Regions from separate parts of the Homo sapiens genome. Here region 1 is linked to region 2. The links are contacts of gene promoters, found by promoter capture Hi-C in human tissues and cell types (Jung and others, 2019). All regions are on one chromosome and are shown on one strand. Each heading gives the region's core, a stretch centred on a gene start or on the middle of the fragment in contact. The rest is flanking DNA. Distances are from core to core; before and after follow the strand shown. Region 1 overlaps PHF21A (PHD finger protein 21A). Region 2 holds the start of ACP2 (acid phosphatase 2, lysosomal).

Region 1 (4,708 bases), core at 1,614-4,113, 1.1 Mb after region 2:
ACCCAAAAGTTTAAAGCCTTGAGTTTCAGCTTTCTTATAAACTCTGCTCACAAATTTGGAATAGAAACATTTTAAAGTAAAATATAGATAATTAGGAACCCTGTGTTTATGAGCCTATCAAAAGGTATAGTATCTTAAATTTTAGAAGTGACTATTCTTTTGAAATTGCCCCCTTTAGAAAGTAAATATAGAAACTTGCTTCTGTGAACGGTGAGAAAAACACTTAACTGTTTAGATAAAAATGAAACCTCTCAGGGTGTTATTAACTTTTTCATCCTACAGACAGTGAATAGTAAAGCTTTCTGTGAAGACATACTGAAGTTAAGCTTATATTAATGTGCTTTTAAATTTTGTATCCTTAGTATTTTATTGCTGAAGGCTTTTGTATTTAATTACTATTCAAACAGAGAAGGGAAGGAATTAAAGTTTTAGGTCTCTGACCTTTAATGGAATTCTTTTATATCTATATCTAGAACTGATTTCTTGAAACATGTTTGAATTTTCATATTATTTTGTGCTGGGAAATATTAATGATTTATGTTGACTTCTCAGGAGCTTTTGTACATGGGCTTTTTTTATAGGCCTAAGAATTCTTTAACGTTTTGATCACATTAATTTTCTCAGGTGTATGTTTTTGCTGCTTTGCGATTTTTTAAAAAAGAGATAATATGTTAACATTGCATTGAATTTATTGTAGATAATTATTTCTTAAATAGCTTATGTTTTCTACTTTGTATGTTTGTGTGTATATGTGGCCATACTATTTTGTAGGCTTTCGTATAATTCTTATATGTGTGTTAAATTTTTGAATAGTTATCTTTTGTAAAAATGTTGAAGTAGACTTTATGAATAACTTTTCTATTACTTGTCCCTCAATTCAGTCTTAAAATTATGGTGAACTCTTCCAAAGCTTTTAGAAATTATATGTGAGGTTCAGCCATCCTTTGGACTCTTCTAAAGCAACTTTCTTACACTAGACTTGTGTGGCAATTTGAATACTCCTCCACTTCTCCCTTTCAGTACCCTGCAAGTCTCTCCCCTCTCCCTGCCTTAAAAAAAAAGTAAATAAAAAAGACTTTGGTGAAAATATCTCAGTTGAAGGCAACTATTCTTTTCTATACTTTGGAATCAGTTACAGAAATGTTTTCTGCCTTTTCTAAGTAGTCAAGAAAGTGAACCAGTATGGAGGGGATAGGAAGGGGATGAGGCCTAACAGGTTGATGATCTAGGCTTTATTTTGACTCTGTTTGTGGGCCTAGGGGAAAAATAACTTAAACACAGAAGCCAAAAAGATGGGTTTTGTTTTATTGTTTTGGCTGCATTGAGAATACAAACTGTCAGTACTTGAGGAGAAGGAGCAGCAGAAAGGAATTGATTTTTTTTCTGCTGCAGATCCAAGTATTGTTAACCATGTGCATCTCCAAAGCGACATACTTACAAATCAAACAGTAGTTGATTATTTCACTCAATTAACAGTCAGAACCCTAAATTGTGTGTGTTTTTTTTAAATTTTAAATAAGTACCCAAAACTTTGGGGTAATGACAGTAATTTCCTGATAAAAGTGGGTATAGTAACCATGGCAACTGCTATCTCTGGCCTTATGGACAGTATGTTGTATTGACGAAGCTTCAAATCCTTTATAGTAGCCCGTCACTTTTATGGTGAAATGTAGTAGCATGTGTTGCAGATGATTTTTAGCTGGATTGCGTTAAATTTGTGTGCCAGCTTATCTTTCCTTGTTAGGAATTTCTTGGACTATATTCCAAAACATGTTTGTGAAGGTGCTGTTGCCTGAAAATAACCCACCACCTGTGTTAGGCCTCCTGATGCAGATTGCACTTAGTTCTTTCCCAGCCTCCTTCCACAGACTTGCAGAAAATAGGAGGGTGTGTAGCAACTGTATATATGTAAATTCTAGCTCAAACTTATCAGCTTGTGTTTGGACGTGTTACTGATAGCTTAAAAAATCTTTTGTGTTTTCAGAAGAGGTCAGTGGATGAGAGAAGTGGGCTTGTAGTTGGAATACTGTTTTTCTAAGTGTTCTTTGTAGAAGCGTGTGTGTGTGGGGATGTGTGCGTGTGTGTGTGTGTGTGTAGGGAATTAGAGGTGAGGAATGGAGGGCATAAATATTGAGTAAGGACTTGACAAAAGCAGAACTTCAGTGTTTTTTGTTTGTTTTTGTGATGGGGTGTGTGCGTATTACTAAAAAAATTATTTCCTGGTGGGCAATATTAGAATATGGGGAATGTTTGCTTCTGAGAATTTTCTTCAAGAAAAATTATTTATAAAATACATCTTGAATAATTGTTAAAAAGCAACCTGTTAAAACAATTAAACTTTTTTTTTTTTTTTTTTTGAGAATGAATCTCACACTGTCACCAGGCTGGAGTGCAGTGGTGCGATATTAGCTCACTGCAGCCTCCACCTCCCAGGTTCAAGCAATTCTCCTGTCTCAGCCTCCTGAGTAGCTGGGACTACAGGCGTGCGCCACCACGCCCAACTAATTTTTGTATTTTTAGTAGAGATGGTTTCACCATGTTGGCCAGGATGGTCTCGATCTCTTGATCTCGTAATTCACCCGCCTCAGCCTCCTAAAGTGTTGGGATTACAGGCGTGAGCCACCGCGCCCGGCCAAAACAATTAAACTTTTTGTGGGGGAGGATTAGAGAATGTTGAAATGGATCCATTCAAACTTTAAAAAACTATTTCAAAAATTATATTTTTTATTCATCAAGTTTTTTTGCTTTTTCAGCATTTTTTTCTGTGCTTCTCCTACGTAAGATTTTTCTAATGTGAAAATGTTGGTCTAAATATTGATACTTTTTCCGGTATGTGCTAGAGAAACTGTGTGCCACATCAGAGAACATACAAATTTGATTTAAATTTGATTAGACTCTGATAATAAGATATAGTCAAATTGTGCTAGATAGTTCAGACTTTCTTGAAACTTGCTGTGATAACGTGGTTTACTTACTACAAGTCCCAGTATGCATTGCAGTTTTTGCTTAACTTCAGATTAGAGCACTGCATGCTGGGACCTGTAGTTGATTTAAACAGTACGGAAAACCCTTCCTTCTTGTCTGCTCCATTTTATTATACACAGCTTCCCAGCCCTCTAAGAACTTTCTGCTAAGTAGTTTGATTACTAATATTATGATTATTATGCTGCTCAAATTCTAAAGTGAGTCTTCAGAAACAACCTAGTGTTTTAGTTTACCTTAGATTAGTTTATTGTATTTTTTATCAGCTACTATAAGGTTTACACACAAAATAATATATTGAAAACTTGACTTAGCAGATGTAAATTATTTTTATGCATGTGGCGATACAGGTCTCTTTATAATTATGGCATCATTCATTGCTAGTGTGGGCATGAGAAGCCTCTTATTATCAAGCCTGATATATATGCTGTTCCTTTTTTTTTAAAATGGGGATAGTTGTTCCGTAAGGTTGGATGGAAGGTTTTCTGTGCCAGTATTTAATTTCAGAGTTCTGTGATTCTTCTGTAATAATTGTCAACATCTTGAATATCTGTACGCTTTAACTGGAATTCCTGAAAATAAATGTGGTTTTAGTGTAAATTTAATACTTGAAAATGTAGTCTGAGGCAGAGAAAGAGGTGAAATGTCTTTAATAATTTATTTATATTTTTATTTGGAAAGTTTAAATTTTTTTGGTGAGGATTCTACTTTAATTTTATTAACTAATATCAGAGGGTTGTTACAGGGATTAATTGTTAAAATCTATGACCGTACCTAGCACGGTGCTTGGCACATAATAAGGGCTCAGTAAACGTTTAGAATTAGCAGCAGCAGCAGTAGTAGTAGTTACTGTTATTTTAAAAAATAGCACGCTTCACATTTTTTTCCTCTCTTTTTACAATATAATTTGATCAGAAGCTCAGGCTGTTCTAAGACCTTGAGATTTTTGGCTTATGGTAATGATGTGACAAATTCCTGAGAATGTTTTTGCTGTGTGTAAAATGTCCTTGCACCTCAGTTTCTCCCTAAGTGATGTATGCCCCCAAAAGGACTATCACACCAGTAACTGAATATTTTGACTAGTATTCAGCTCTGCCTGTCTAGTACTCATTGCATCCATACCACAAGCCTTTGGTTGACTTCAGAAAGTTCAAAAGGTAATGAAAATTTATTGTTTACAATGTTTGCACTGTTAGAATATCCAAACTAGTTGATTAAGGAAAATAAGATGCTGCAAAATGCCCCTTTTGTTACAGTGTATGTAACCTTGGAAAAATTCTGTTGTGTTTAGAAGCATGTACCAATCTATCACTGTAGTTCACAGTGTTACAGGATTGATGTATTGGAGGCCAGTAAACAGCCCCAGAAAGAAAGTGTAGTTTCAAAAAATCTTAATTCTTTACATTAATTTTCTCTTTTAGGACACTGACTTCTTTTAGGCTCTTGAACTTGTATTTTTATTTGCATGGCTGGTTCCTTTTGGCTGTTTGAGAAGGGAAAGGGATGCCTGGGGATATTGGAAAATGTAAGTGTAAGCTGCAATGTATATGTCTTAGTTTGAATGTATGCAGAAGCAGGGCAGTGCCTTTCTTACTTGCTTAGCCAGTATCTTATTCCAGCTTTTTCTCTTGCGAGGAGTTCTTACAATATTGTTGCTGAGGGCTACCATGTTTATTTAAGAAAACTCTGCCTTTAGTTTTATTTATTTATTTATTTATTTATTTGA
Region 2 (5,408 bases), core at 2,157-4,656:
GGAAAAAAAATGGCTAACATACCTGGATTTAGGTTTGCTTCTGCCAACACAGAATATGGTAGTGGTTCCTGTCCTCACCTTCAGAGATTCTGATTTATTTGATCTGGGATAGGCCCACATATCCATCTATCTACATGTGTTTTTTTTTTTTCTTTTTTTTTTTTGCACCTGTAGTTACGAACCAAAGTGTAAGAACCACAGAATCATCTGGCAGAAAATGCAAAAGCTGAAGGCAAAGGGGTGAAGAAACTAGGGCTCAGCTTCAGGCTCTACTATCTACTTGCGCTGTAATCCCCACCCTTCCTGGAATAGTTTCTCCCTATAAAAACTGAAATAGTATCTGCTTCATCAATCCCTCCTACGTGGGATACTTGCATGCACAAAGAATATAGACATATTTGAGCAAGTGGGAAGAAAAGCAAAAGCTGAATTTGAGAGATAGCTGAAATTTGGTGAGCCAAAGATTTACACTCTGAAAGTACAATGGTCTGGCTAGTTTGCAAGGAGTAAGAGGCCCATTAAAACAAAACACTCAACTGCCTCCCACTACCACTAATATGCAGCATTTTGCCAATTACCCAAGCCCTCTTTATTTTATTTTTTTTTTTGAGACAGAGTCTCGCTCTGTTGCCCAGGCTGGAGTGAAGTGGCACAATCTCGGCTCACGGCAGCCTCTGTATCCTGGGTTCAAGTGATTCTCCTGTCTCAGCCTCCCCGGTAGCTGGGATTACAGGCACACGCCACCACGACTGGCTAATTTTTGTATTTTTAGTAGAGATGGGGTTTCACCATGGTGGCCAGGCTGGTCTTGAACTGCTGACCTCAGGTGATCCACCCGCCTCGTCCTCCCAAAGTGCTGGGATTACAGGTGTGAGCCATGTCCGGCCTAGGTCCCGTTTAGTCCAACTAATTTGAAAAGGTTTCCTTTGACAGATACCTCTTTATTGAAAGGATTTCGGGATCACCAATTACAGTTTAGTAATGCAGTTTGAGTAGCCTGCAAGAAGCAGCCCATTATAGACTATTTAACTGAAAATCACAAAACCTGACTTTTTTTTTTTGAGACGGAGTCTTGCTCTGTCGCCCAGGCTGGGGTGCAGTGGCACGATCTCCGCTCACTGCAAGCTCCGCCTGCTGGGTTCACGACATTCTCCTGCCTCAGCCTCCTGAGTAGCTGGGACTACCGGCACCTGCCACCACACCCGGCTAACTTTTTGTATTTTTAGTAGAGATGGGGTTTCACCATGTTAGCCAGGATGGTCTTGATCTCCTGACCTCGTGATCCACCCGCCTCGGCCTCCCAAAGTGCCGGGATTACAGGCGTGAGCACGCACCCGGCCAAAACTTGACTTTTAATCCATTCTCAAACTGTGCCCATGCCCAAACTGTGAATTTGGGCAAGTCACTTCCTCTCTTTAGGTTTGTTTCCTAAGCTGTAAAGTAAGAGGACTAGGTTAAATCAGGTATTCAGAGATGCTGATTTATGAAACCTGTAATAAATGGTCTTTGTGAACCATTTGGGATTATATGCAAAATTCCATGTGTGTGTTTATATGTGTGAACATTTTTCTGGAGGAGAGGTGCAAAATTTTCATGTGATTCATAAAGGGGCTTGTGATTAAATAAGAAGGTTAAGAACTGTTTGGCTACCCAGGCTTTGGCTCTTACTCTATTTGCTTCTTGGCCTCCTCCATGACAACTCTGGAAGCAAAGTTTAAATCCTGAAGTATATATAAATAATTGAATCTGGAGTCCTAGGACAAAATAAAGACAGATAATCCTGATCTTTTTTTTTCTTTTCTTCTTTTTGAGACACAGTCTTGCTCTGTCATCTAGACTGGAGTGCAGTTGCACCATCATGGCTCACTGCAGCCTCAACCTCCTGGGCTGAAGGTGATCCTCCCACCTCAGCCTCCCGAGGAGCTAGGACCACAGGTGTGTGCCACCACACCCAGCTAATTTTTAAACTTTTTTTTGTAGAGAGGAGATCTTCCTAAGCTGCTCAGGCTGGTCTCCAACTCCTGGGCTCAAGCAATCTTCCCACCCTGGCCTCCCAAAGTGCTGGGATTAGAAACGTGAGCCACCACACCAAGCCTAATCAGGTTTTTGTTGTTGTTGTTTTGAGACAGTCTCACTCTGTCGCGCAGGCTGGAGTGCAGTGGCGTGATCTCAGCTCACTGCAACCTCCGCTTTCCGAGTTCAAGCGATTCTCCTGCCTCAGCCTCCAGAGTAGCTGGGATTACAGGAGCACGCCACTGCACCCGGCTAATTTTTTTTTTTTTGTATTTTTAGTAGAGACGGGGTTTCGCCACGTTGGCCAGGCTGGTCTCGAACTCCTGACCTCAGGTGATCTGCCTGCTTCGGCCTCTCAAAGTGCTGGTATTACAGGTGAGCCACGGCGCCCAGGCCAAGCCTGATCAGTTTTGTTTCCCAAAGATCTGAGGAGATTTGCTTCCAGTAGGCAGATCTGAATCAAAGCATCCCCAGGACCTATGATCTGACCTGCAACCGTCACAGGAGTCACAAAGTCCTGAGGCCAAACTGGCTGCACCTGAATCCTAATGGTCAATGCCAAGAGGGCCATTGATTCTGTGGAAACCCCACCTACTCCCACTTTATGATATGCGCCTGTCCCTTACCTCAAAATACCTCCCCACTGGTCTGAAATTCCTCCCCCAGGGATTCAGTGCTTTGGGTTTGTAAAGTCTGAACATCCTGTGCAACCCAACTCCTTTGGGAAGAGGCATGACATGACGTCTTGACTCTAATTAACTAAAACTTGGAAGTGGAGGGGAGGGAGGACAGGGAAAGGACTGGAAGGGAAAGTGAGAGGGCTACTGAAGCTTTGTGCAGGGCAGGAACGGTAGGCCAGACTGGGGCAACCTCAAGGACACACGGAGTCCAAAGGGTTGTTTACATACTGTGTCCTGCACCCCAAGCAAAACATCTCCTGGAGAACAGGGCCAGGGCTCAATCTCCCCACAAAGGCAGGGGCGTGGAGAGAAGCGACCTCTACTTTCCCATCCCTCGCCTCAATTCTGCACCCGATCTAGCTATGGGGTCAAGCCTGGAGGGGACGCTGGTTCTCCAGACATGGTCCCGCCCACTGCAAGTGCCACCTTGGTAAGGGATTTCTCCGAGCAGAGGCAAACGCGAATTTGTGGCCTTCTTAATCAAGATGAGGTCTTCGAGCCCTGTCTGCCGCGCCAGGTCGCGTTACCTTCTTATGCTCCTCCGCCACAGCCAGACCACGACCCTCCTGCACGCAATCCCACCGAGACTGCGCCTTTTCCCCGCACCCCAGCAGGTCCCTAAGTAAGATGGCGGCGAACGCACTTCCGGCGTGTGTCCTTACGGGTGCGTCCGGGCGGCTGCTTGCAGGTGCCACCCAGCGGGTTCCAGCTTGTTTGCTGCATAGATTACAACGGTGATGGCGGGCAAGCGGTCCGGCTGGAGCCGGGCGGCTCTCCTCCAGCTCCTTCTCGGCGTGAACCTGGTGGTGATGCCGCCCACCCGGGCCCGGAGTCTGCGCTTCGTTACCTTGGTAATGAGAGATGGGCTCACCAAAGACTTCCCTGAAGCTAAAAGGGCAAAGGCCAGCTGGTGGAGGTCGAGGATCTCGGGAAGGAACAGCTGGTTTAGGAGGGGACGACTGGCCTGGGTAGTTGGGAGGCTGGATTCAGGATTGACCTGGAGCCCTGGCTTATGGGAGTCAGGATGACCGAATACGTCGGGGTGAGTCTGCCTTGAGACAGGGAAGTGGTTGAATGGTTAAGACTCATCCCTAAAGAAGCCTTTGGTTATCTTTTTTCCCCAGTTGTCCCCACCACATACGTTGCTTTCACTTCTCTTTTCCCTTCCTACCTGTACCTTGGCTTTGCCTATGGTCTCCAGTAGCATTGCTTAGCTAAGTTAGAATCTCTGGAATCTGGAAGAAGTGACTGACTCCTAGCTGGGGTCTTTTGCAGCCAGTAGGCTTCCCAGAGGGAATGAGACTTCCTTCCCTAACATGGGGCAAAAGGTAGGCTCTGGGTCCCTATCAAGGGGATGCTTCTGACCTATAGGCAAACCATTTTATTCTCTCAGCTGTACCGCCATGGAGACCGTTCACCAGTGAAGACATATCCCAAGGACCCCTATCAGGAAGAAGAATGGCCCCAGGGGTTTGGTCAGTTAACCAAGGTGGGTCAGAAGCCAGCCTTTCCTCAGGATGAGCTGCAGAATGAGCGACGTCTAGAGCAGTCTACAAAACTTGGGGTCCTACTAAACTGCCTTTTCCCATATGGGTGCTGACTTTGACCAGATTTCATAACCTTAATCTCTGTGCCCATGATATTGCTGTGCATGACTGGCCACTTAATGAAAGACTTCTGGGATCAGATTAATTGACTCCAGCAAAGCGTGAACCTGGAAAGCAACAGGGCCTAAACCCCATGGGGCTTGAAGCCACCCCTTCCCTCTAGACCCTCTTAACCCTTGGGTTTGCCCACAGGAGGGGATGCTACAGCACTGGGAACTGGGCCAGGCCCTGCGGCAGCGCTATCACGGCTTCCTAAACACCTCTTATCACCGGCAAGAGGTAAGGTTGGGAGCTCCAGAGGCAAGGGGAACAAGGTATGCTGCCCTCATCTTTTGCCCTCAGGGAGCCTAAGGCTGAGGCTGGGCACTTTGGCCTCCTTCTTGTATTTTTGGTCACAACTACAGGAAAAGACATCTGAGAGCTGTCTGGAACAAAGCCCTAGGAGCTGAGTTGCCCCTGCTTGGCTGGGATGAGGCAAATTTGATTAAGCATCCAAATTCGGACTTAAGGGCGGGCCTGGCAAAGTGGTTTCTGACTGTGAAATCACAGGCTTTCCATCCAAGACATTGAGTACCTATTAAAGGCCAAGGACTGTGCTAGCACTTTGCATTCAGTTGTGCACCATACAGATATGATCTCTGTCTTCATGGAGCTTAGAATGTTGTGGGGGTATCTAATGATAAACCAGACAGGGCCAAGATGAAAGACAGCGGGGAAGACATGCGTAGAGAGGGCTTGTCTTTTCTTGATCAAGATGAGGTTTTTGAGCCCTGTCTGCTGCGCCAGGTCGTGCTATATTCCTAGGGCACATCAGGGAGGACTGGTGAGTGTGCCTGCTCCTTGAGTCTTCGCCCCACCCCAGGAATGGGGGAAGCTGTTCCTCTGATTACCACTGTCAGCCTCAGCCGTATCAAGAATCCATAGACATTGTTATTGTTCTCTTAAGGCCCAGCTCTGTCCTGAGCTTGTCCTTCCCCAGTTTCCTCCTCCCTTTTCATGAGCCACTATCTCTGAATAAGCTCTTCAAAAAAAATTTTTTTTTTTGAGACAGAGTCTTGCTGTGTTGCTCAGGCTGGAGTGCAGTGACATGGTCTTGGCTCACTGCAAC

What was found. Contacts are between HindIII fragments. The study calls those that stand out against the background at their distance.
Region 1: a fragment that was not itself captured here is called in contact with the fragment with the promoter of ACP2 in region 2 in 1 of the 25 tissues and cell types used here (dorsolateral prefrontal cortex).

The regions. Positions count from the first base shown.
Region 1 is chr11:46,111,474-46,116,181 of GRCh38, reverse strand. All of the region lies in intron 1 of PHF21A (PHD finger protein 21A), which reads left to right. Among named protein-coding and RNA genes, the nearest start is that of PHF21A, 7.6 kb to the left of the region's middle. The HindIII fragment of the contact is 6,770 bases long and covers 1-4,708 here.
Region 2 is chr11:47,246,812-47,252,219 of GRCh38, reverse strand. ACP2 (acid phosphatase 2, lysosomal) reads left to right here and starts at 3,406. Exons shown (of 11, transcript NM_001610.4): 1 at 3,406-3,544; 2 at 4,087-4,182; 3 at 4,493-4,579. The coding sequence starts at 3,431. It also overlaps a transcript of NR1H3 not described here. RefSeq lists a silencer at 2,963-3,130 and enhancers at 3,211-3,720, 3,851-3,940. The HindIII fragment of the contact is 13,067 bases long and covers 1,205-5,408 here.